Regions from separate parts of the Homo sapiens genome. Here region 2 is linked to region 1. Evidence: promoter capture Hi-C in 16 types of primary human blood cells and fetal thymus (Javierre and others, 2016). All regions are on one chromosome and are shown on one strand. The core of a region is centred on a gene start or on the middle of the fragment in contact, and the rest is flanking DNA. Distances in the headings are between cores, read along the strand shown. Region 1 holds the start of WASHC5-AS1 (WASHC5 antisense RNA 1). Region 2 overlaps MTSS1 (MTSS I-BAR domain containing 1).

Region 1 (4,756 bases), core at 298-2,797:
TAGAATTACTTCATCTTTTGGAATCAACCTCAATCAAATGCATTCACCATTCAAATTTTCATGTATTGACTGAACTGTTCTTAATACCTGCTTTGTCAAAAGCACTGACTTGGTGAGTGAGAAGCACAGATTATTTATCTGTAAGTAGGCAGCCTCAAATGACAGCAGGTTGCTGGTGAGGCGGAGGATATGAGTTCCCTCTAGGACAGGCCTCCATAACCACTCTTGGTAATCAACACACTTCCAACTGCCCTCTGGATGATGAGTGATCAGCCCTGTAAAAAGCCAGTTGCGGATTTTGGTAATAATTGCTTTCTAAAATCTGTGCAAGTATCTAGCAGTGTCTGGTGTGTCTCTCACTCGCTCTCTCTAATGAATTCATTTGTTCAGCAGACATGTATTGAATCATGTGATCAGTACCTGTCTGCTGAATACACGAATCCATTAGAGAGAGTGAGTGAGAGACAGAGATAAACGGAGGGACAATACTGAGGAAAGAGGCTCCGAAGACAGATTTGATTATCCGTGGCAAGGAAGCCTGTAAATTCAGACCTTCCACCCAAAAATAACTTAAAAGAGTAAGAACTGAAGAAACTGGGGTGCGTAGATAATAAACAATCCAAGCCCACGGATGGCTGTTTCAAACCCTGGCACTTACTTATTGAGATTCTCCAGAGCAGCTGCCAGATGTTTAGAATCAAACCGACAAGAATAATTTAATTCATTGGCAATCTGTTGTCTCAGAATCTGCATCTGCCCAACCTGTGCACAAGCAAGAGAAAGAACAGGTAGTGCATTCAAGCATTTCAGAGTGACAGTGAGGAGGTAAACACAAAGATGACAATTCTTCACTGGGCCTTCACATCACTCTACAGGAAAAAAAATAAGGATTTCCTGAACTGATCTCTTGGCTAAGACCAGCACTGGATCTAATGAAGCACCAGAGGCCCTTCAAGGAATGTCTGGATGGATTCCCATACCCCAACCTAAAAATACCCCAAAGTCTATGATTCACAAAGTGATCTATTAATGTTCAGTTGTTCATGTATCAAAGATGTCTTTTTTGAAGCTATATTTTTAACCTTTTGGAATAAGTGCTCCAAATTTAGTAGCTGCTGTGAGAAGTCTTACTTACTTCCTTTTATTTATCCTAAATGGAACTTTCTCAAGCTCTAGGAATGCCATTTCACACTAGTATTCTCAAATTGGGTGAATATTAAGTCTGTCCATGCCACTCAGGATTATAGGTTCTATAATTATCTGGATTACAAAATAATCTACATAAAATCTTTCACGAAAATTTTAACAATGATAGCCCCTTAATCCAGGGTTCTTAATTTTTTTTGTGTGTCTGATATGGTTTGGCTGTGCCCCCACCCAAATTTCATCTTGAATTGTAGTTCCCATAATCCCCATGTGTCATGGGAGGGACCCAGTGGGAGGTAATTGAATTATGGGGGTGGTTACCTCCATACTGTTCTCGTAATAGTGGATGAGTTCTCACGAGATCTGATGGTTTTATAAGAGGCTTTTCTCCTTTTGATTATATTTCTCTTTCCTGTTGCCATGTGAAGAAGGACATGTTTGCTTCCACTTCCACCATGGTTGTAAGTTTCCTGAGGCCTCCACAGCCATGCTGAACTGTGAGTCAATCGAACCTCTTTCCTTTATAAATTACCCAGTCTTGAGTATGTCTTTATTATGTGAGAATTGACTAATATAGCCTTGGACCCCTTTGGGAATCTGGTGAAGCCTATGGACACCATTTCAGAATAACGTTTTTGAATGTACAAAATAAAACATAGAGGGTAACAGTGGAAGCCAGTTGTAATGAAATATAATTAACCATTCAAAGAACAAATCTGTGATATAGAGTTATGCTAGGATGGTGTATTAACTACAGTACTTTAAAAGTAGCTATGAGCATAAATGATACTTGGAGATTATCTGCAATGGTTGGATGATAGGAAGCGATCTTTGGGTCAGGCTTGAGAGTTCAGTTTGCCCTCATAATGTTGTCTGCATCATAAGGTCAACAGCACACTCTAACTTTTTCTGCCTATAAATGTCTTCTTTTCTACTCGGACAAAGTATTCCTAAAAGACTGGCAAAGGGGAGTGAGGGAGGTGGGGAGAGGAGGGAAGACAGTATTATAATGCAAGCAGCAATAAGGTGGAAATAAATGCATTTCCTCTGAGTTGCTGGGGGCAGAGAAGAGTTAAGGAAAAGACAGGGGCTCACGCCTGCAATCCCAGCACTTTGGGAGGCCGAGGCAGGCTGATCGCTTGAGGCTAGGAGTTCGAGACCAAGCCTGGCCAAAATGGTAAAACTCTGTTTCTACTAAAAATAAAAAAATTAGCTGGGTATGGTGGTGGACACCTGTAATCCCAGATACTTGGAAGGCTGAGGTATGAGAAACACTTGAACCCAGGAGGTAGAGGTTGCAGTGAGCCAAGATTGTGCCACTGCACTCCAGCCCAGGCGACAGAGTGAGACTGTCTCAAAAAAAAAAGAAAAGGAGGGTGGCCTTCTCTAAGAATGAGCAAAAGTTACTTAGCTAAATGGAGCTTGTAATGGTCAAAAGTATTAAATGACCTCAGATGTATTATTTTTGACCACTATTCATACAAGACTATTACTCTATTTATGTGAAAAACGTCAATCCAAAAATGCTATTTATAAATAGGAAGTGTTTGAATTTATAGAGTAGCATTATTTAAAAATTAGAATGCAGCAAATCCAAGAAAATAGTAGGTTCTTTCAGGCCACATAAAAATGTCCCTGAAACCCTGTATCTGGCCCATATAATTCTTTGCTTAATTTTCTATGTGTAGTATACTCTGTGTCAAGGATCCTCTTGAAAATATCAATCTAGAACTGGAAATAGAAATAAAGTCAGTTTAATATAACTTGCTCTCGTTTACTGCACAATGAATCTTTGTTAGTGACATTTTCTATTTTTGGTACTCACGCACTTCAAGCTTTAATAAGCTGCTGAAGAGGCTAAGGAGCCTGGGATGGATGAGAAACTTATTCTACCTACTCATTTGCCTCTTTGGAGATATCTGGCTTATCACTCTTTCTCCAAGATTTTTCTAGAGTTGCACTATTGAGTACAGCAGCTCCTAGCGATGTGTGGCTATTTATATTTAAATTAATATGAAATAAAATTAAAAATTGCATTTCACTGTCCCACAACCCACATTTCATGAGCTCAATAGCTACACAGGGCTAGGAGCTGCTGTCATCATCGAATAGCACAGAACATTTCCATTGTTGTTCCAGATTATTAACACTGGCTCCGTGACTGTACGCACCCTAATTCAAGACAAAAAGACAAATTTGTCCTTTGGGGCTTTATTTAAAGATCACTGACTCGGTCACAGTCACGTGGCTGTTACTGAATTACTGGCAACTATAACCAATAGTTGGAATAGCTACTGGACTGAGAACCCTCCAGTAAGCAAGGGGAAAACCTTCCAGTTTCTTGGAAGAATCCCTGTAATCCCCCTAACGCCTCCTACAGAGTTGGGACTCACACCTGTCCAAACTCGGGTGATTCTTTATTCCTCCTAAAGGGTTTTCCAGCAATTAGAAACTTGGCCTGGGAAGCGCTTAATATCTGACAATCATGAGGCTAGGGGAAGGCAGACCCACATCACGAGAGGATATCTAGCAGAGCCATGGGCTCCTTGCCTTACCTGTTCTGTTTAATGATCCAAACAACAACAACAACAACAACCACTCACCAAAATTATGGGAAATATATTGTGAATTTGGCTAAGATACCAATGAGTGCTGTCTCAATGAGAAACTTATATAATTGGGAATCAGAGAATGGAACTTTTCAAAATTCCCTTAGCATTCTAGAATTCTAGACTTTTCTACAGTATGTGATATTTTTGACCACAAACCAGTTTTCTACCAGGAAGTCTACTCTTCCCTGCTAGATTGTGAGTTAGCTAAGGAGACCGGTCATGTTTCATTTAACTCTGTCTTTCACAGCAACTGACAATGCCCTGGGTATAATGGGTGTGCAAGAATGGGCTGTGATGATCTCAGATTATCAGATGATGAAAGAAGACTCGCAGAAGATGCAGGGGTCCCTGGGAGCTCCTACTGCCGAGTAAAGGCAGGAAACTAGGCAGCTGGATTCTAAAATAAGTTAGACTTCCATCCAGCAAATTAATCTCTTCGTCTTTCTTATTCATTTCCAAAGTAAGACTGCTTTCTGCAGAGTATAAGGATAATTTATGCCCCAAAGAACCTGGCTTCCTAACATCTATGCAGACACAAGAGGGCAGAGAGACAATGTTCTGTTCTAACAGCAGCTTGGAGCAGATGAGGTGTGTATAAATGAACTTTGTTATGTAAAAAGGGAGTATTACTGTGCAAGGAAAAGTTCAATTTTCATATATAAAAGCACCTCTAGCCAAAAGGCATTTTACAAAGAGCCAGTTTTCTTGAACAAAAGGAAAACGCTAGGCTCCTAAAAAGCCTAATCAAGAACAGATCCAGAAACGGAGATAAACAAAATGAATTTTAAAATGATAAACTGAAGTATTAAAATATTTTTGATTTAATGACAAAAGAAAGAAGAGTAGCTTTTTTTGGGCAACAAAGTTACAAGAAAATAAAAAATTTAAAAATGTAAGTATTGACTGTACACCCTCTCTTCTACAACATACCTTCATTATAGCCTCGAGATACGCAGTCCAAATCTTCTGTGTTTTGGCAATGGCGGAAAAATAAATTT
Region 2 (5,184 bases), core at 587-3,086, 440 kb before region 1:
TTCACCTTGACGGCGGGCTGGAGGACTGCCCGGGTGTTGCATCACAGAAGTTGCCTCAGCGTGCATCACTGCCACTCTGGCTGGACCGAGCAGGGCAAGGCTGGGTACACCATCTGCTGCCCCGGGGGATGCCTGGAGGCCAGCACTAGCCACGGCTACACAGCTCTGCACACACGCACACACGAGCGTCAGACTTGACCATGAAGCTGGGCACTCCTCTTCTGCAATCGCACTGGCATGTTTCAGGATTTTTTTATTTTATAAGGTGAAGTGACAGAACACAGTCTTCAAAGGAAAGTAAGAGTGTTTCCAAATGGCATCAGAGTGTGAACCTGAATTCTAATAAGAGAAGAGGAAGCTCAATTCTTAGGCCTGGAAAAGTTCAATCATGATGCCCTAGCTAAGACAATGCTTTACCCAAAGATTTCGACCAGGTGTGTCCAATCTTTTGGCTTCCCTGGGCCACAGTGGAAGAGGAATTGTCTTGGGCCACATATAAAATACACTAACACAAACAACAGCTACTAAAAAAAAAAAATCACAAATAAATCTCATATATATACATATATATATATATATATAATTTTTTTTTGAGACACGGTCTCACTCTGTCATCCAGGCTGGAGTGCAGTGGTGTGATCACGGCTCACTGCAACCTCCGCCTCCTGGGTGCAAGCAATCCTCCCACCTCAGCCTCCCAAACAGCTGGGGCTACAAGTGTGCACTACTACACCTGGCTAAGTTTTGTATTTTTAGTAGAGATGGGGTTTCGCCATGTTGGCCAGGCTAGTCTTGAACTCCTGGCCTCAAGTGATTCCCCCACCTCGACCTCCCAAAGTGCTAGGATTACAGATGTGAGCCACCATGCCCGGCCTCATAATGGTTTAAGAAAGCTCACAAATTTGTGTTGGGCTGCATTCAAAGCCATCCTGAGCCATGTGAGGCCTGCAGGTTGAACAAGCTTGATCTAGACCAAGGGGCAAAACCCAAAAGGCTAGTAGGTGGACAACTATAACCCAGACCAACAAAATAACTGATCAGTAAGGAAGCTCCAGGCAAGGGGCTAGCCAGACCTCGGCTAGAGGTGGGTACATCAGCCTGGGGGTCTATAAGGTGGATCTCTTAGGTGATCTCCAGGTTAGACTGGATGACCCCTCTTCCTGGCAACCAAGATGCTGGAGTGGAGAAAGGACAGTGTTCCTGTAGTCAACAAATTTTTAGGAAATGTTACCTTGGTCTAATTATTGTGCTACGAAGTAAAGAGACAGCCGCCTGCCCCCATAGAGTGGGCATCTCCTGTAATTGGAAATGACGGATCGTCATGGTAACCTTAGAGCTGGAAGGTGCCTTAGAAAACTCACAAAGCAACAAACCAGCAGTTCCTTGCTGTTGGGCATCCCACTCTTTTTGTTCTTTCTGAGATGTAGTCTTGCTCTGTTGCCCAGGCTGGAGTGCAGTGGCACCATCTCAGCTCACCACAACCTACACCTCCCGGGTTCAAGCAATTCTCCTGCCTCAGCCTCCCAAGTATCTGGGATTACAGGCGTGCGCCACCACTCCTGGCTAATTTTTGTATTTTTAGTAGAGATGAGGTTTCACCATGTTGGCTAGGCTGGTCTCGAACTCCTGACCTCAAGTGATCTGCCCGCCTCAGCCTCCCAAAGTGCTGGGATTACAGGTGTGAGCCACAGTGCCTGGCCAGGCATCCCACTCTTGCCTTTAATTAGCAGAGTGCTCCTGATGCACGCAGGACTTCCACGCTTGCTGCTGTTTCTCTTGTTCAGGGAAACTCATCCTTGTTCTTTAAGCTGCACATTTATGAGGCAGCTGGCCCCTGCCAAAAGGACCATCATTTTCATTAAAGGTCAAAGTCAGCACTCAGGATATTAAGAACTTCAAATGAACAAACTGTGTTCCTCTGGCTTCATCAGCATTTTATTTTTACCCTTGGGCATGGAGAGATGGACAACCAGAAGAAAGTGGCATCATTTGATGCCCTACATTTGTTTAACTACAGGGAGGGGAGGCAGAGAGGGAGGAAATGGAGAAGCAACCAGTTTCTGGTATCACAAGTCTTCACAGAGATCAGACTCTGTTCACACGAGACAAATATCCCCTCTCCAATCATTAGAGACCCTGGTCACACATAAGTCACTGAGCAGCGTCCTGATACCTTATGTTAGCCTTGAAAATGGCTGCAAAACACAAACTTTTTTGCCTGTGCCATTTACAAGATCATCTCAGTCGGGTGTGTCCAATCTTTTGGCTTCTCTGGGCCACATGGAAGAATTGTCTTGGGCCACACTTAAAATACACTAATGATAGCTGATGAGCTAAAAAAACAAACAGGCTGGGCATGGTGGCTCACCTAAGGTTGAGAGTTCAAGACCAGCCTGGCCAGCGTGGTGAAACCCCATCTCTACTAAAAATACAAAAAATTAGCTGGGCGTGGAGGCAGGCGCCTGTAATCCCAGCTACTCAGGAAGCTGAGGCAGGAAAATCGCTTGGACCCGGGAGGCGGAGGTTGCAGTGAGCCGAAATCAAGCCATTGCACTCCAGTCTGGGCAACAGAGTGAGACTCCATCTTAAAAATAAATAAAATAAAATAAAATAAAAGCAAAAAAAAACCGTTTCAAGAAAGTTGATGAATTTGTGTTGGGCCACATTCAAAACCATCCTGGGGCGCATGGGGCCAACAGGCCATGGGTTGGACAAGCTTGATCTAAATGTTCTTACAACAAACACACAATCTGATTTCAAGGAAACTAAGAGAAGAGAAACATTAGTCCTTTAAGCTGTGAAAATAGGTTCCTTAGGACAAAGGTAAAAGAACTTGAAAAGATATTCAAAAATAAACCCATAAAGCCCCCAAAAAAGGAAGTACAACTTCCCTTTTGCTACAATGGCAATCCTAACAACTCATTTTAATCTTCAAGGAAGAGAAAAACATGCAGAAAATTTCCTGTGTGGTTTTTTTTTTAAAAAACCTGTTTTATTCAGCTACTGTATACAGCTGAGTATGTAATGAATAACCCAGCTGGTGTTTACGGGACAGCTAATACTGCACATTCAGCAAATGCTAGGTAGGGTCAGCATCACATTTTTGGAAGACACCATTGTGCCCACACACAGGGTGGAAGACACTGCAAACTGTTATCAGATGATAATCTTCCAGCCAATCTCCCACTTCTCAGTCTCTCCCACTTCACGACTTTTCAAAAAGCAGAGGAAACAAAACCCACACACAATCCTACCACCATCTGGCGGCTTCAGACCAGCAAGCATGAGATTCTGGCATGCACCGTACTGGCAGCCACAAAGACCAATATTCCTCTTTGTTGCTGTTTTAAAAGCAAAGCGAGAATGGTAATATGGAAACACAAAAACACGGACACGCTCACACTATGGGAAAACCATATTAACAGCAAACACATTCCGACAGGGAGGCTTCCCTGTCTACGTTTTGGATGGAATGGTGTCTGGTTGCAACACCCTGTGGGGGTGTCACCTGGGAAATGCCAGCTGTCTCCCCGACATCTGCCACCATGAACCCCCCATTGCCATGGTCTGCCTCTGCTGCATGGGCACAGAAAGATGCTCCTGCTGAAGCCAGGTCTGAGCGACTCGATGACGCCAGCTCCTGCCAGCGAAGCAGCTGTGGCCTGATGCAGAAACCACATGTCATTTTCTTAGTTCACAAAATTTAACTGTCGGGTAGATAAGATGCTCACAGTATCTGGATCAGGGATTATCTCCCAGTCAGCCTTCTTGGGTTGTCAGGTAATTCAGAAGGTGGCCAGATGAATATGGAATCAGAATCAGGGAGTTAGTGTTCTAGGGATCAGAGTAAGAGCCTGCTACATCTATCCCTGACAAAGGGATGGCTCTAAGCTGGGACTCTGCGGAGACAGCCCTCGCACTGCCTCCCTCCCTGCCCTCTCGCTGCCTCCCTCCCTGCCCTCTCGCTGCCTCCCTCCCTGCCCTCGCGCTGCCTCCCTCCCTGCCCTCGCGCTGGGCTCCCGTTGGAGATCAGAACTCCCTGTGATAAACATCTATCCTTGAACCCGCTAGCACCTAAAATCAGGTTTCATGCATGTGTCACTGGCCTAAGAGCTACTTTATTCCTTTAAGAGGTTTCTGTACATCCCCAAACTATGCCAGAATATAGCGACTTTATCATCTCTTAGGAGGTAATCTTGCAGTTTTTCATATTATTAGGAATAGCTCCCATTTACTGAGTGCTTGCAACATGACAAACCCTTGCAGGAATGTTGTATTCATTTTTTTAAAATCTCATTATACTCCTCTTATAGGTACCATTATAAAGTAGGTATCTCATTTTTTTTTTTTTTTTTTTTTGAGACAGAGTCTCACTCTGTTGTCCAGGCTAGAGTGCTGGGAGTGCAGTGGTGTGATCTTGGCTCACTGCAACTTCTGCTTCCCAGGTTCAAGAGATTCTTGTGCCTCAGCCTCCCAAGTAGCTGGGACTACAGGCATGTGCCACCATGCCCAGCTAATTTTTGTGTTTTCTGTGTTTGGTTTTTTGTTTTTTTTTTTTTTTTTTGAGATAGAGTTTCACTCTTGTGGCCCAGGCTGGAGTACAATGGCATGATCTTGGCTCACTGCAACCTCTGCCTCCTGGGTTCAAGCGATTCTGGGATTACAGGCACCCACAACTACGCCCAGCTAATTTTTGTATTTTTAGTAGAGACGGGGTTTCACCGTGTTGGCCAGGCTGGTCTCAAACTCATGATCTCAAGTGATCCACCTGCCTCAGCCTCCCAAAGTGCCGGGACTACAGGCACAAGCCCCTGCACCCCGCCAAAAGTAGGTATCATTATCCTCATTTTACAGATGAGGCCAAGGGTACTCAGAGAGGTTAAGTAACTTGCCCAAGGTCACACAGAATTCAGAATTTACATCCAGGGCTGAGTCGATAGCTAGAACTTTCAACCACTCCATTCTTGGGGGCATCTCACTGTTGCCAGGACATTACCAACAGAAACATTTGGCAGATAGGGAATTAGGTTTTCTTCCCCCACCCCCGATCCTATAACTGGGAGAAAATAAGAGCCCTTCCCCCGAACATCTGTTTTATCAGCCAGATTCAAACCGTGCTGTCGCCACTTCCTCGCTCAACTGTGTACAGTTGGCCGGTCTGCATCCAAGGCCATGAGTTCAGGG

What was found. Contacts are between HindIII fragments. The CHiCAGO score rates a contact against its expected background, and 5 or more counts as called.
Region 2: a contact is called between a fragment that was not itself captured here and the fragment with the promoter of WASHC5-AS1 in region 1, in 3 of 17 cell types (erythroblasts, M2 macrophages and megakaryocytes). The highest score is 8.9, in erythroblasts.

The regions. Positions count from the first base shown.
Region 1 is chr8:125,039,137-125,043,892 of GRCh38, forward strand. It overlaps WASHC5-AS1 (WASHC5 antisense RNA 1), which reads left to right and starts at 1,548. Exons shown (of 2, transcript NR_170219.1): 1 at 1,548-1,643. WASHC5 (WASH complex subunit 5) reads right to left here. Exons shown (of 29, transcript NM_014846.4): 23 at 4,689-4,756; 24 at 659-762. The HindIII fragment of the contact is 6,314 bases long and covers 1-2,979 here.
Region 2 is chr8:124,601,626-124,606,809 of GRCh38, forward strand. All of the region lies in intron 3 of MTSS1 (MTSS I-BAR domain containing 1), which reads right to left. LOC124902016 (a long non-coding RNA gene) reads left to right here and starts at 5,112. Exons shown (of 2, transcript XR_007061088.1): 1 at 5,112-5,184. RefSeq lists an enhancer at 3,731-3,800. The HindIII fragment of the contact is 1,755 bases long and covers 960-2,714 here.